Regions from separate parts of the Homo sapiens genome. Here all the other regions are linked to region 1. The links are contacts of gene promoters, found by promoter capture Hi-C in blood cells and fetal thymus (Javierre and others, 2016). All regions are on one chromosome and are shown on one strand. Each heading gives the region's core, a stretch centred on a gene start or on the middle of the fragment in contact. The rest is flanking DNA. Distances are from core to core; before and after follow the strand shown.

Region 1 (3,823 bases), core at 646-3,145:
ATATTTGTAGAGGAGTCATGATTTTACTCTTTTCAAAACAATTATCCTGTAACAGGAACCCTCTGAGCAGAGGCAGACAGGCCACCCTTGATTCCTGCTGTGGAAAGAGAATTTTTTACTCCAGACCCCAATGGTCCTTTTCAGATTCCTAACGTGAAGGGTTGTTCATATCTCGGCCTCTCGCGGAAGACTCTATTTTCTTGAAGCGCGGGGAACTACGTATTCCCACTAACAAAAATCTGTTAAGGGGCAGGGCGCAGTGGCGCACGCCTGTAATCCCAGCCCTTCGAGAGGCCGAGGCGGGCGGATGGCTTGAATACAGGAGTTCCAGACCAGCCTGGGCAACATGGCGAAACCCTATCTCTACGAAAAAAACACAAAAATTAGCCGGGCGTAGTGGCGCACGCCTGTAATCCCAGCTACTTGGGAGGCTGAGATGGGAGGATGGGTTGGGCCCAGGGGATCGAGGCTGCAGAGAGCGGTGATCGCGCCACTGCACTCAACTTGCGCAACAGAATGAGACTCTGTCTAAAAAACAAACAAACAAACAAACAAACAAACAAACAACCCCCAAACTCCCCAAAAATGTGTTAGGGGAAGGAGGTGGGACAGTGTGTATTTCTGATCTACTCGCCTTTCCTAGTATGACCACCAGGGGGCGCGGAAGCCCTCCTGGTACTAAGGCGGGGACAACCTGCCCAGCGAGCACAGCGGGCAGAAGGAAGTGTGCCGGACGCGAGAGAGAACTACGGCCGAGACCCGCGGGGCCGGCTCAAAGCCCGACCTCTGCCATACGCACCGTATCTTTATGGGAGCCGATGAGGTCAGCAGGGAGCACGCGTTCAGATGGCAGAAGAGGGCAAAGTACTGCTAGAATTACAAAGATATTTACAGCTTTTTAACCTGAAAGCACAGAGCAGATCCTATTCTTCAGAATTAAATCTTCGGCTCGCCAGTCCCGTTTATGGATCTCCACTCTGATGAATGTGCCATTTGTTCCCAAGAAGACAAATAGGGTAGGGAGAAGAGGGAGAGGCGGGGAGAAGACTCGAGATAAAGGGACGATCTGCTTTTCGGAAGCAGAAGCCGCCTGGGAACCACCTGCACACCAAGCAGGCTGCGAGGACGGGGAGCGCTCCAGTGCAAAGTTCTGTATTTTAAAGCCCCTCCTCGCTCACAGGCTTCACAGCGAACTACGAAGTGGGTACCATCTCTGATTTACAGACACGGGAACGGGGTCCTCTTGAGAAACGATGCTTTCCCAAACGTCTGCAAATTGTGAGTGCCAAGTGTCTCCACTGGCACTAACAACATCGAGCTGCTTACGTTTCTCGGAGCGGTCCCGATTTCCAACAAGCAAAAGATCCAAATTCTCTGACCACCCTGACCGTCCTGTATCTCCAGATCTCCAGGTCTTTCCTCTGGACACCTCCTCCATCCCCCCACTTTCACTGCCAGCAGCCCTGAGGCTGCGCGGGATCCCGCTACTCGGAATGCCTTCCTCCTGGCGGGATATTTTTAGAACACTCGACTGCCACCCAATGTAGCCCACATCACATTGTCTTATTTGTTTTCGGGAGCTTGTCCCCGCCTAGCAAGGAGTCGGCTAAGAACTGGATCCTAGCGAGGAGCCCGGCACAGACAGCGAATGACCGCAGCCAGACAGTCGCTCTTGCTCTTCCTCGGCCCTGCGGCAGGATCCGCCGGTGCAGGGGCCTCTCCCCGGACTCCACGCGTGTCTGGAGGGCTCTCGGGTTAGGGAAGGGGGCTTTGGAGACGCCCCGGGCGGCCGGGCGGTGGCGGGACGCGGGCCCTTTAAGAAGGAGCGAGGGGCGCGGCCAGGTAGGGGCGGGTCCAGGGCGGATCAGCGCTGCGCCGGCGCCGGCCCGGGAGCCGGATTTGGAGCGCGAGGCGCCGGTGGGGGCGGAGGGGGCTGCGCGGCGGAGGCTCCCGTGGCCTCGGACGCTCCTCCTAGCTAGCGGCCGCCGCCCGCCGCCGCCTGCGCCTCCAGCTCCTTCGCCCCGGCGGGCCCGGCCGCCGCTTCCGGCAGCTCACCTGGGAAGCGCTCACCTGGGACGCGCTCACCTGGGACGCGCTACCTGCCTCCGGGCGCCTGGGCTTCAGGATGAAGGACCGTCTGGAGCAGCTGAAGGCCGTGAGTTTCGCCGCAGGCGGGGTGCTGCCAGGAGGGGTGCTGCATGGGAGAGGGGCTTCCCTTTGCTCCCCAAGTCGAGGCTGGAGGGGGGCCCGAGCCGGAGGCTTGCCCTCCCCAAGCCCCCACCGCTTCCCGCGCCGGTTCCGCACCCTCCCCTCCCCTCCCCTGCGGGGTCATGTGCCCGGTGATTCATCGCTAGGCAATGATTTTCCTGAACGCCTCTAACTCTCCCACCCCGCAAGCTGGACAGTGTCTGTCCAGAGCTGGTTCCCGAAGCGGGTGCTTGGGCCCGGGAGGTCAGGGGTCCCTTCACCACCTGCCCACTGCTGCCTGGCACTATGCCCAGGACCAGCCTCCTTCTCCCTTTCCTGTTTCTCTCCTGAGGTGCTACAGGCCTGGCTGCCCCTTCCCCCAGGGAGCAGCTCAGAGCTCTCTGGTGACCTCTGGAGCTGTGAGCCGGTCACATGCTGGGATGGGTCAGCTCCTCTCCAACCGGTGGTCTGTAATTGTTATCCCCGGGTGTCATTGTCCCCCCCTCCCCCGCCGTATCTTTTGGAACAGCTGTGGTTAGGTCAAAGGATCTGAAGGTAGACTACCTCCAGCCTTGGCTGCGCAAAAGCTGTAAAGCCTTAGGTTACTTACTGTGAGTCTCTGTTTCCTTATCTATCAAATGGGAATGATCATACCCTAGGAATTTGTTGGGAGGATCAGCTGATACAATGGAACTTGATACAGAAAAGGGTTAACGCATAGGGTTTTAAGCCAGATATTCATTGACTCATTCAGTACATAATTATTGAGTGTATTCTATGGGGAGGTCCAGTGCTAAGCCTTGGAGATTCAGTGGCACAGGTTCTACCTTAATAGAATTAAAATCTAGCCCTTGACACTCAAGAGTTTAGTCCATCTACTTTGGAGCTTGTTACAAGTGTAGCAGCTTAGGCCTGAGTCTAGCCCCGCAGAATCAGAATCTAATTATTCATCCATTTCCCCAGGTGATTCATGGGCACATTACAGTTTGGGAAGCACTGGACTGGATTAGAACTGGGGTTGTCTCCTGGCTCCACTGCTTACTGGTGATCCCTTAAAATCCCAGCCTAAGTTTTGTCATTTGTAAAATGGGTAGTTGTAAGGTCGAAATGCAACAGAAGATGCTTAAGAACACTTTTAGGGTGCATGGCACGGGGGACTTAATAAATGGTGAAATATGCTAATAACTGTGAGTGCTCTTGGGAAAATGCAGATGTCAGGGACTGCTGGGATGATGTTACAAGAGTTTATCCTTTTTCTCCCTTGCTTGGATGAGACCTTCATTCCTGTTTCACCTGTTCTGTGTAGCAGGGCTGCGGAGGAGGCAGGTAGCTGGGGAAGTGAGAGAAGCAAAGGGACAGTTGCCTATTGTGGGAGTGGCCTCTCTGCCTCAGGCTTGTGCTTAGTCATCTCAGCCTCACAGCGTCCAGGTTACTGATGGGGCAGAATTTATTGCCCCTGTTTTTATAGATGGGGAAACTGCTGCTCACGGGGTAGGAGGGATGCTCCAGGACACAGAGCCGGCCAGGGCACCACCAGGAGAGGAACCCAGGCTCTTGACACTCTCCACAGTGCTCCTTCCCTTGAAGCACGCTGGTTGGGGAGGCAGAAGGAAAAGAAGAGCACGATTTTGAAGAT
Region 2 (3,823 bases), core at 602-3,101, 100 kb after region 1:
TTTAATGCTTATACCTGAAGCAGAGACGCAAGAAGAGTCTTTGTTAATATCCAAGAAGGTCTTTCCCATCAGGGCAGGTAAGACCTGGGCTGCAGCGTTTGGATTGCTGAATGCTCCTTGAGAAATTTCCGTGAGCACTGTATTCAGAGTTTGTTGGCAATTCCAGTCATTTTCATTATAATAGTCTGATGATACAAAGAGGGCCTAATGAGGCAGGGTGGGGTGGGGGGGTGATGAGAGATAAAGAGAGACAGAGAGAGAATATGAGACACTTCAAATAAGGGGGAAGCCTTATCTATAACTATATATGTAACTAATTCAGTATTAATTGAACATTGACTACCTAGGAAGCACCTCAGATAACTCAGTTATCTTTCTTGTTATCCAGAAGCTTATAAACTAGTTTGGGCAGGGAGGTTGGAACTGCTTAATAACACAAGCTATAATAGTTCCAATGAAGGCAGACTTTGCCACATTCATTTCTGTATCCCAGTGCTGGGAAATACCTGTCATATAGGAGACACTCAATAAATATTAACAAACTACTGTAAAAGGAGTTGCCAGAGGAATGCCCTAAGGGATGCATCTAGTGGGATGCCTCTTTCAAAAGAGGAGAGGAGCTCACAAACATTTAATGAAGCTAAAAAAAAAAAAGCTTCCTGGAGAAGGTGGTATTTGAGTTAGGCCTTGGAGAGTAGGATAGAGCACTCAAGAGGAACAACATGAACAAAGGTGTTAGGTAGGAATGGCCAGGACATGACCTGGCAATGATGACAGTATCTGCATTTTAGCAAAGTTCCTCAGGGGATTCCTCCTGGTTTAGGAGAACTGATGTATGGGGAACATTGGAGGCAACTGTGGAAAAACAGGCTGGAGAAGGAAGTTGGGCTAGACTAGTAGATGCTTGAATTTTATGATGAGATGTCTGACCTCATTTGATTGACAACGATGAGGAGGTGTCTGACATTATTTGATTGACAATGGGGAGTCTAATTGTTCATTAAACAGAAACTCTCCTGGCAGCAGAATGTAAGCTTGATTGAAGGGGCAGAATTGTGAGGTAGTAAAAGTTAGGAGGGCATTGGGGTAAGCAAGACAGGAACTAAGGTGGGTCGGACTTGAACATGCTGCTCTGTAGTTTCCCAGGGATGGACAGTTCCTGTTTTCATCTTTTCTTGGAGGTTCTTAAGCTAACCAAGTTGTCCACAAGCATTTGTGGGATATTAAGAAAAAAGAAAAACTGGTCATAGTACATTTCCTCTTAAGACACGTCAATAAATGTTATTCACATACATAACAATAAATTAAATGTTATTAATATTTAAAAATACCCAACAATGTGTTGTAGGCAATTAGCTCTTGATCCTACTGTGAATTTGTATCACCTGTAGGGCTTTTAAACCAGAGCAAGGCCCAGGCTCCACCTCTAAATTTCTGTACTACCTGGCTGGTGTGGGCCTGGGTATTAGTGTTTTCTAAGAGCTCCTTCAGGTGATTCAAATATGCAATGAAAATGGGAAAGCAGTTTATATTCAGTTCAAACTTAGTAAGGCAATCAACAACATAAATAGTAACAACAACAATACAGATAACCTTATGACTGGACCCGTGCTTACACCTCCAGCCTCCTGTTATGTTTCCCAAGGACTCTGTGCTGGTCATGCCGAACACCTTGACCTTAAAATGCCTAACATTCTTTTGTGCTTTTGGGTCTTTGTCCTCACTGTCGTCTCTCCCTTGAAAGTCCTCTAGCCCTGAGTCAGCCTGGAAAATATCTATTCATACTGATGATGCAGTAAAGTTTTTTTTTTTTCTGTAAACCTTCCTTGATCGCTTCTTATATCATCCCCTTAGAGTTTGTAAATCAATGGCTGAATGAATGCAGGAATAAAGTCTCAGACCTCAAAGAGCATATGCACGACAGTGTAGGTGCTGAGTGTGAGTTTTGAGAACAACAGCCCAGGTCCCATCCCAATCTACACCACTTTCTGGTTTTGTGAGATTAGTTAGATTACTGACACAGTTACTGTGACTCATGCTCCTAGTTTAGGAAATGGAGGTGATGGGGTAGTTTGCTCTTATCAGCGGGGGATACATTCCAAGACCTACAGTGGATGCCTGAAACCATGGATAGTACTGAGCCTTAAATATACTATGTTTTTTCCCTATACATCCACTCCTATAATAAAGTTCAGTTTATAAATTAGGCACAGTAGGAGATTAACAACAGCAATAATCAAATAGAACAATTATAATAATATATTACAGCACCATTGCTCTTGTGCTTTGGGGCCATTATTAAGTAAATACGGGTTACTTGAACACATGCACTTCAATGTTGGGACAGTTGATCTGATAACCGGCTACTAAGTGATTAACAAGCATAGACAAAGGGATGAGTCACTTCCTGGGTGGAACAGAGCGGGAAGGTGCAAGATTTTATCACACTACTCAGAATTATGCACAATTTAAAACTTATGCGTTATTTCTGAAATTTTCCATTTAATATTTTCAAGCCTCAGTTGACCTTGGGTGACTGAAACTGTGGAAAGTGAAATTGTGGATAATGGGGGGACTACTGTGTGTGTGAAAGTGTAAACTACGTGTGATAGAACAAGAAAGCAGATTGTAGTAGACTCTAGAGTTTCTTAGAGAAATTGTAGTTAGGAAAAGCTTCCTAGAAGCATTGGCTATGGGGAAGTAAAGCTGAAGATGAGAAGAGTACATGTCAGGGAGGGGAAGGGAATCGTATGAGCAAAATCAAAGTTAGTATAGGAACCGCAGAATGTATAATAAGGTCTTAGGAGGCCAATAAGAAAGGAAAAAGATACTGGCTGGGCGCAGTGGCCCACACCTGTAATCCCAGCACTTTGGGAGGCCAAGGTGAGTGGATCACCTGAGGTCAGGAGTTCGAGACCGGCCTGGCCAACATGGTGAAACTCTGTCTCTACTAAAAATAGAAAAAATTAGCCGGGCGTGGTGGTGGATGCCTGTAATCCCAGCTACTCAGGAGGCTGAGGCAGGTGTAATCCCAGCTACTCAGGAGGCTGAGGCAGGAGAATCGCTTGAACTCGGGAGGCGGAGGTCGCAGTGAGCTGAGCTCGCACCATTGCAACTCCAGCCTGGGCAACAAGAGCGAAGCTCCATCTTAAAAAAAAAAAAATACTGCTTTCTTCCAGAGAAGACTCCCTTCTCTGCCTCCTGTTTCACCCTCTGACTTACCTGCATGGCTTCTCCTGTGCTAAATGTGTTTCCAATGAGACCATTTTCTTTTTTCTCAGACAGAATCTTTTCTACCAGTGACTTTGTATAAATACTGATGTTCTTTAAACTGCCTTCATCTGCTTTGATCTGCCCATTTATTAGACTCTTCTTCACACAGGTCAGAGCCAGGACAGCCATTGCACCAGTATCTGTCAGGAAACAAAACATTGTTGATAGGCGACCAACCACCTCAGTTTGTCCTGGGCCGAGAGGTTTCCTGGGATGTGAGACTTTCAGTGCTAAAAGAAAAACAGATCTAGAAAAACTGGGATGGTTGGTCATGCTAATTGGTGAAGAAAGATTTCAAGATACAGCAATCATCTCTCCAGCACTAACCACTCAAATATTTAAAGATTTCTTCCCAATGTTCAGTTGCCATGTACTCCATAGTTCATACCTCATACTGTAGTGCGATGGGTCTCCCACTTAAGGTTACTTAAGGGAGATGCACCTCACTAGTGGCCACCATGGCCAGTTTATTTTTCCCAGTGATAATGTACTCTGGCCACCTTTAGCTCATATACTAGCATTGTATATTTTGGTACTTATGACACTGTGT
Region 3 (3,823 bases), core at 836-3,335, 81 kb after region 1:
ATTTTTGTACTTTTAGTAGAGATGAGGTTTCGCCATGTTGGCCAGGCTAGTCTCGAACTCCTACCCTCAACTGATCCACCCGCCTCAGCTTCCAAAGTGCTGTAATTACAGGCATGAGCCACTGTGCCTGGACTATACCGCCAAAAGCCTTCTAATGTTCCTATTTCAAATGCCTACCATTAAACATATCTAAGGAATTTAATCCTTTTCTTTGAAAGATATTCTTTCTTCTTGACCCTTTAATCAATAGTTTTGAAGCTTCTTTCTCTTGACCTCTATGTCCCATCACTCACAGAGCCTTGGTGTGGGTCCGTGTATCCCAGAGGAAGTCATCGTCACTTCACACCTCCATTATTGGAGTCATGTCCTATGTTTTAGCCTTGTCTCCTATTCTCACGACCTAAGCAACATTTTACCAAGTGGATTTTCTTACTCAAAAACTTGCAAAATGAAGTTCAGTCTCCTGAACCTGGTATTTCAAGACTTTTACACTGTCACCCAACCTGGTATGTCCACCTGGCCTATTCATTGGCCCCAAATTCCTTGCTCAGTCTTATCGCAAATGCTTTGTTCTGGCCATTTCTTTTCCTTTTTTTTTTTTTTTGAGATGAAGTTTTGCTCTTGTTGCCCAGGCTGGGGTGCAATGGCATGATCTCGGCTCACCGCAACCTCCGTCTCCCAGGTTCAAGCGATTCTCCTGCCTCAGCCTCCCGAGTAGATGGGATTACAGGCACGTGCCACCACGCCTGGCTAATTTTGTGTTTTTAGTAGAGACGGGGTTTCACCATGTTGGTGAAACTCCTGAGCTAAGATGATCCGCATGCCTCAGCCTCCCAAAGTGCTGGGATTACAGGCGTGGGCCTCCCAAAGTGTTGGGATTACAGGCATGAGCCACTACGCCCGGCCTGTTCTGGCCATTTCTTTTTCTGGACTTACCTCTTCCCACATCTTCCTAAATAGTACCTATTCTTTGTGTTTCAAAGCTACAAAGTCTCTTTTGCCTGTTCTACTCTGCAATGGACTTTCGAATCTCCTCTGAATTTTTGTTTTTAAAACTTCATCATATGTTGACTTATATGATTTAAGTTTTCATGAGAGCCTTACCTATTTATTAGATTGAAAGCTGCTCAAGCGCTATTAAATAAAAATCTGTTATCAAAAGGAAAAAAATTAGGAAAACAGGATGGATAAAAAATGGGAATTCAGATCAGGCCTTGAGAGAATGATGAATGACATTTGTAATACTCACTTGAACATAGGATTTTTGCGCTGTGCTTCCTCTAGGACAACAAGTAACACTGACCCACTTTTCACACTAACATTGATGGTCTCGTTGAAGAGCAGCTCAACCCCCCTCAGCTGGTTATTTATGGTGTATATGACAGTGATGTTAGATGCAGAGGTGGGGCCAGGGCCAGGGTTGCTGGGTAGAGTTGGTTGTACCTCATGATCTGTGAAGGGCAAAGAGGCCACATTTGTCAAAGATTATGGGGTTTGTATCATAGGTGCAAAATCTCTGTTATTGGCAACTTACCCCAGAAGACATTTTGAGAAAGTAGTGAGTTTCATACCATTTAACAAAGTACTTGGACAACTAGCATAGAATTCCGGCAAAAACTCCATGGCCACCTTGTTAAGGTTGGGACATCACTGGGAAGCAGCCTAAGGGGTTGAGTGAATGTGGTAGTTTTTGGTAGGATTGGGATCAGTTTGCTTGATTTTGGTCTCCACATTCTGCATTGAGATAGACGAGAAACTTATTAATTGCTTCTTGTCTTAGGAAGTTCATGCAATGCAAGAGGAATGATGCTTTGTGTTAGCATTTTATTAAAAAAAAAGAGTTTGAGGAATCCATACCAAACACTAGTAATCTCTGGAGTAATAAGTTTTTATGCAAGACCTCCACTTTCCAAATGCATATTTCTGTAATGTTTGAATTTTTAGTGTCTTTCAATTATATGCATAATTGGATAAAATAAAGATATTTTTAATTAAAAAGTGGCATGCTAGGTTTCCACTCCATCTCATTGATATATTGCGTGCATCGAGCTTTCATATTTAGATCGTTAAGGCTCGATTTAAATATGAATTCTGTTCTTCTCTGAAGCCTCCCAAACAAAATCAACAACTGGTCACTATTTTTCTTTTTGGCATTTGCACTGTGTGTGGCTTTAACTTCTATTTAATACTTACTCGATTGTCCCAAATATTGTAGTTTTTGTTTACACATCTGTCTTCTGACTTTGTGAAAGGCAGATATGATAAGATATGCATAGTGTTTGATGGTACATTTGTGAAATGAATAAATGAAGCTATATGTTGTTTGATAGCTGGGACCATGGAGCTTCTTCTACCTCTAGTATCCCACAAAATGCTTTGCACATAGTAGGAGCTAGGTAAATATATGCTGAATGAAGTAGATATGGGGCTGAGTTCTGAGTGCAGGAAGGTATGTCTGTGTGCTAGCACACACTCTTAAGGACTGGGAGTCAGATGTACTCTGCCCACATGGGAATAATGGACATTACAAGCCTATATGCCACTTAACATTGATCCACATGTCATTTCTGGCATAAGTTGCTGCTTTATGACATAAGGAGAGGTGGATGTCTTACCAGGACTACAAGTGACCTGGGGCACATCTAGGTATGTCTTGCCTTTCAGGGAAGGGAGGATTTGAGCAATGGACATGGGGTTGTGGAATTTCCCCTGCTTAATCTCATTGAGTATCATATCCGTAGTCTTCTTGCAGTTCCATTCCTTTTTAGATGGCTCAGGTGTTACAGAGAGAGCCTGGGAAGGAAGACAGAAAGAGAGAGAAAGAGTAATTAGGCATAGCTGAGAGTTGGCTCTTACATGTCTTAAGAGATAAACTTGATCACTAATCATGGTGATCACGTAGTCACCCAGAATGCAAAGCCAATGCTATGTAAGGTTTGGAAAACATTTGTCTTCAATGCTATGTCCCCACCACTTAGCACAGTGTCTGTCAGACAGCAGACACAGAACTGTGCAATGATCAGATCCAGGGAACACTATTAGGCAGTCATATTTACGAACGACTCTTGAATGTAGAGTGAGGGTGAGAGCTGGGCTCCAGAGGGAGCTTTAGCCTAGGACAGTCTAGCCACATAAACGGAGTAGACCCCTTGTTTCATATTGCCATGTGCCCTCTTTGATGGACTTTTCCCTCACTTTGTGCTTGTGTCAGGACTCTCAGAGGCTCCACAACCCTGGCCCAGGATGGACTCATGACCTGGACTGGGCTGATGGTGGTCACCATCCCCTTGATGACAGTGATTGGTGGACACATGTACTAATCAGAATCATTCCCCGACATACAGACATTGGGACACCCAAAGATTTTTTTTTCCTGCTAAGGTTATTCAACTGGGACCATGCAAATAAACGGTAAGCTGCTAGTGACCATCTTTCTCAGCCACTTTGAAGAAGCCCTGCAGCAGGAAAGAATGAGGAAAATCAGGGCTGGACGATGAAAAAAGAGTGGCTCCTGATATCATGATTTGAGCCCTTTATTCTGGTTATTCCTGAAACCACCTAATTCAGCCCTAGACTTCCCAGTGTATGTGAATAGTAAATCCTCATTTTTTTCTTGAGCTAAAAGGATTTGGGTTTCTGTTACTTGCAAAATGAGTCTTGAGTAATACACCAAGCCATTCAGCCATTCACCTATTTTGCTGCGTTATCTATCGCATGAATAAAATAGAAATAATAACTTCTGTCTATTGTTGGGGGAGTCATTTGCGGTTCCAAGGGGCTAATGTATAAAAGCATTTCGTGATGTGTGATGTGTGATGTGGAA

What was found. The method cuts DNA at HindIII sites, captures the fragments that hold promoters and counts their contacts. A CHiCAGO score of 5 or more calls a contact.
Region 2: a fragment that was not itself captured here is called in contact with the fragment with the promoter of STX3 in region 1 in 1 of 17 cell types (neutrophils); the score reaches 6.7 in neutrophils.
Region 3: a fragment that was not itself captured here is called in contact with the fragment with the promoter of STX3 in region 1 in 1 of 17 cell types (neutrophils); the score reaches 5.3 in neutrophils.

The regions. Positions count from the first base shown.
Region 1 is chr11:59,753,481-59,757,303 of GRCh38, forward strand. STX3 (syntaxin 3) reads left to right here and starts at 1,896. Exons shown (of 11, transcript NM_004177.5): 1 at 1,896-2,155. The coding sequence starts at 2,126. RefSeq lists enhancers at 326-826, 516-810, 576-870, 807-966 and a silencer at 1,837-2,096. The HindIII fragment of the contact is 11,536 bases long and covers 1-3,823 here.
Region 2 is chr11:59,855,855-59,859,677 of GRCh38, forward strand. It overlaps TCN1 (transcobalamin 1), which reads right to left. Exons shown (of 9, transcript NM_001062.4): 5 at 3,223-3,413; 6 at 15-204. Among named protein-coding and RNA genes, the nearest start is that of TCN1, 8.7 kb to the right of the region's middle. The HindIII fragment of the contact is 1,639 bases long and covers 1,033-2,671 here.
Region 3 is chr11:59,834,559-59,838,381 of GRCh38, forward strand. It overlaps CBLIF (cobalamin binding intrinsic factor), which reads right to left. Exons shown (of 9, transcript NM_005142.3): 6 at 2,616-2,793; 7 at 1,250-1,451. Among named protein-coding and RNA genes, the nearest start is that of CBLIF, 9.0 kb to the right of the region's middle. The HindIII fragment of the contact is 3,658 bases long and covers 257-3,823 here.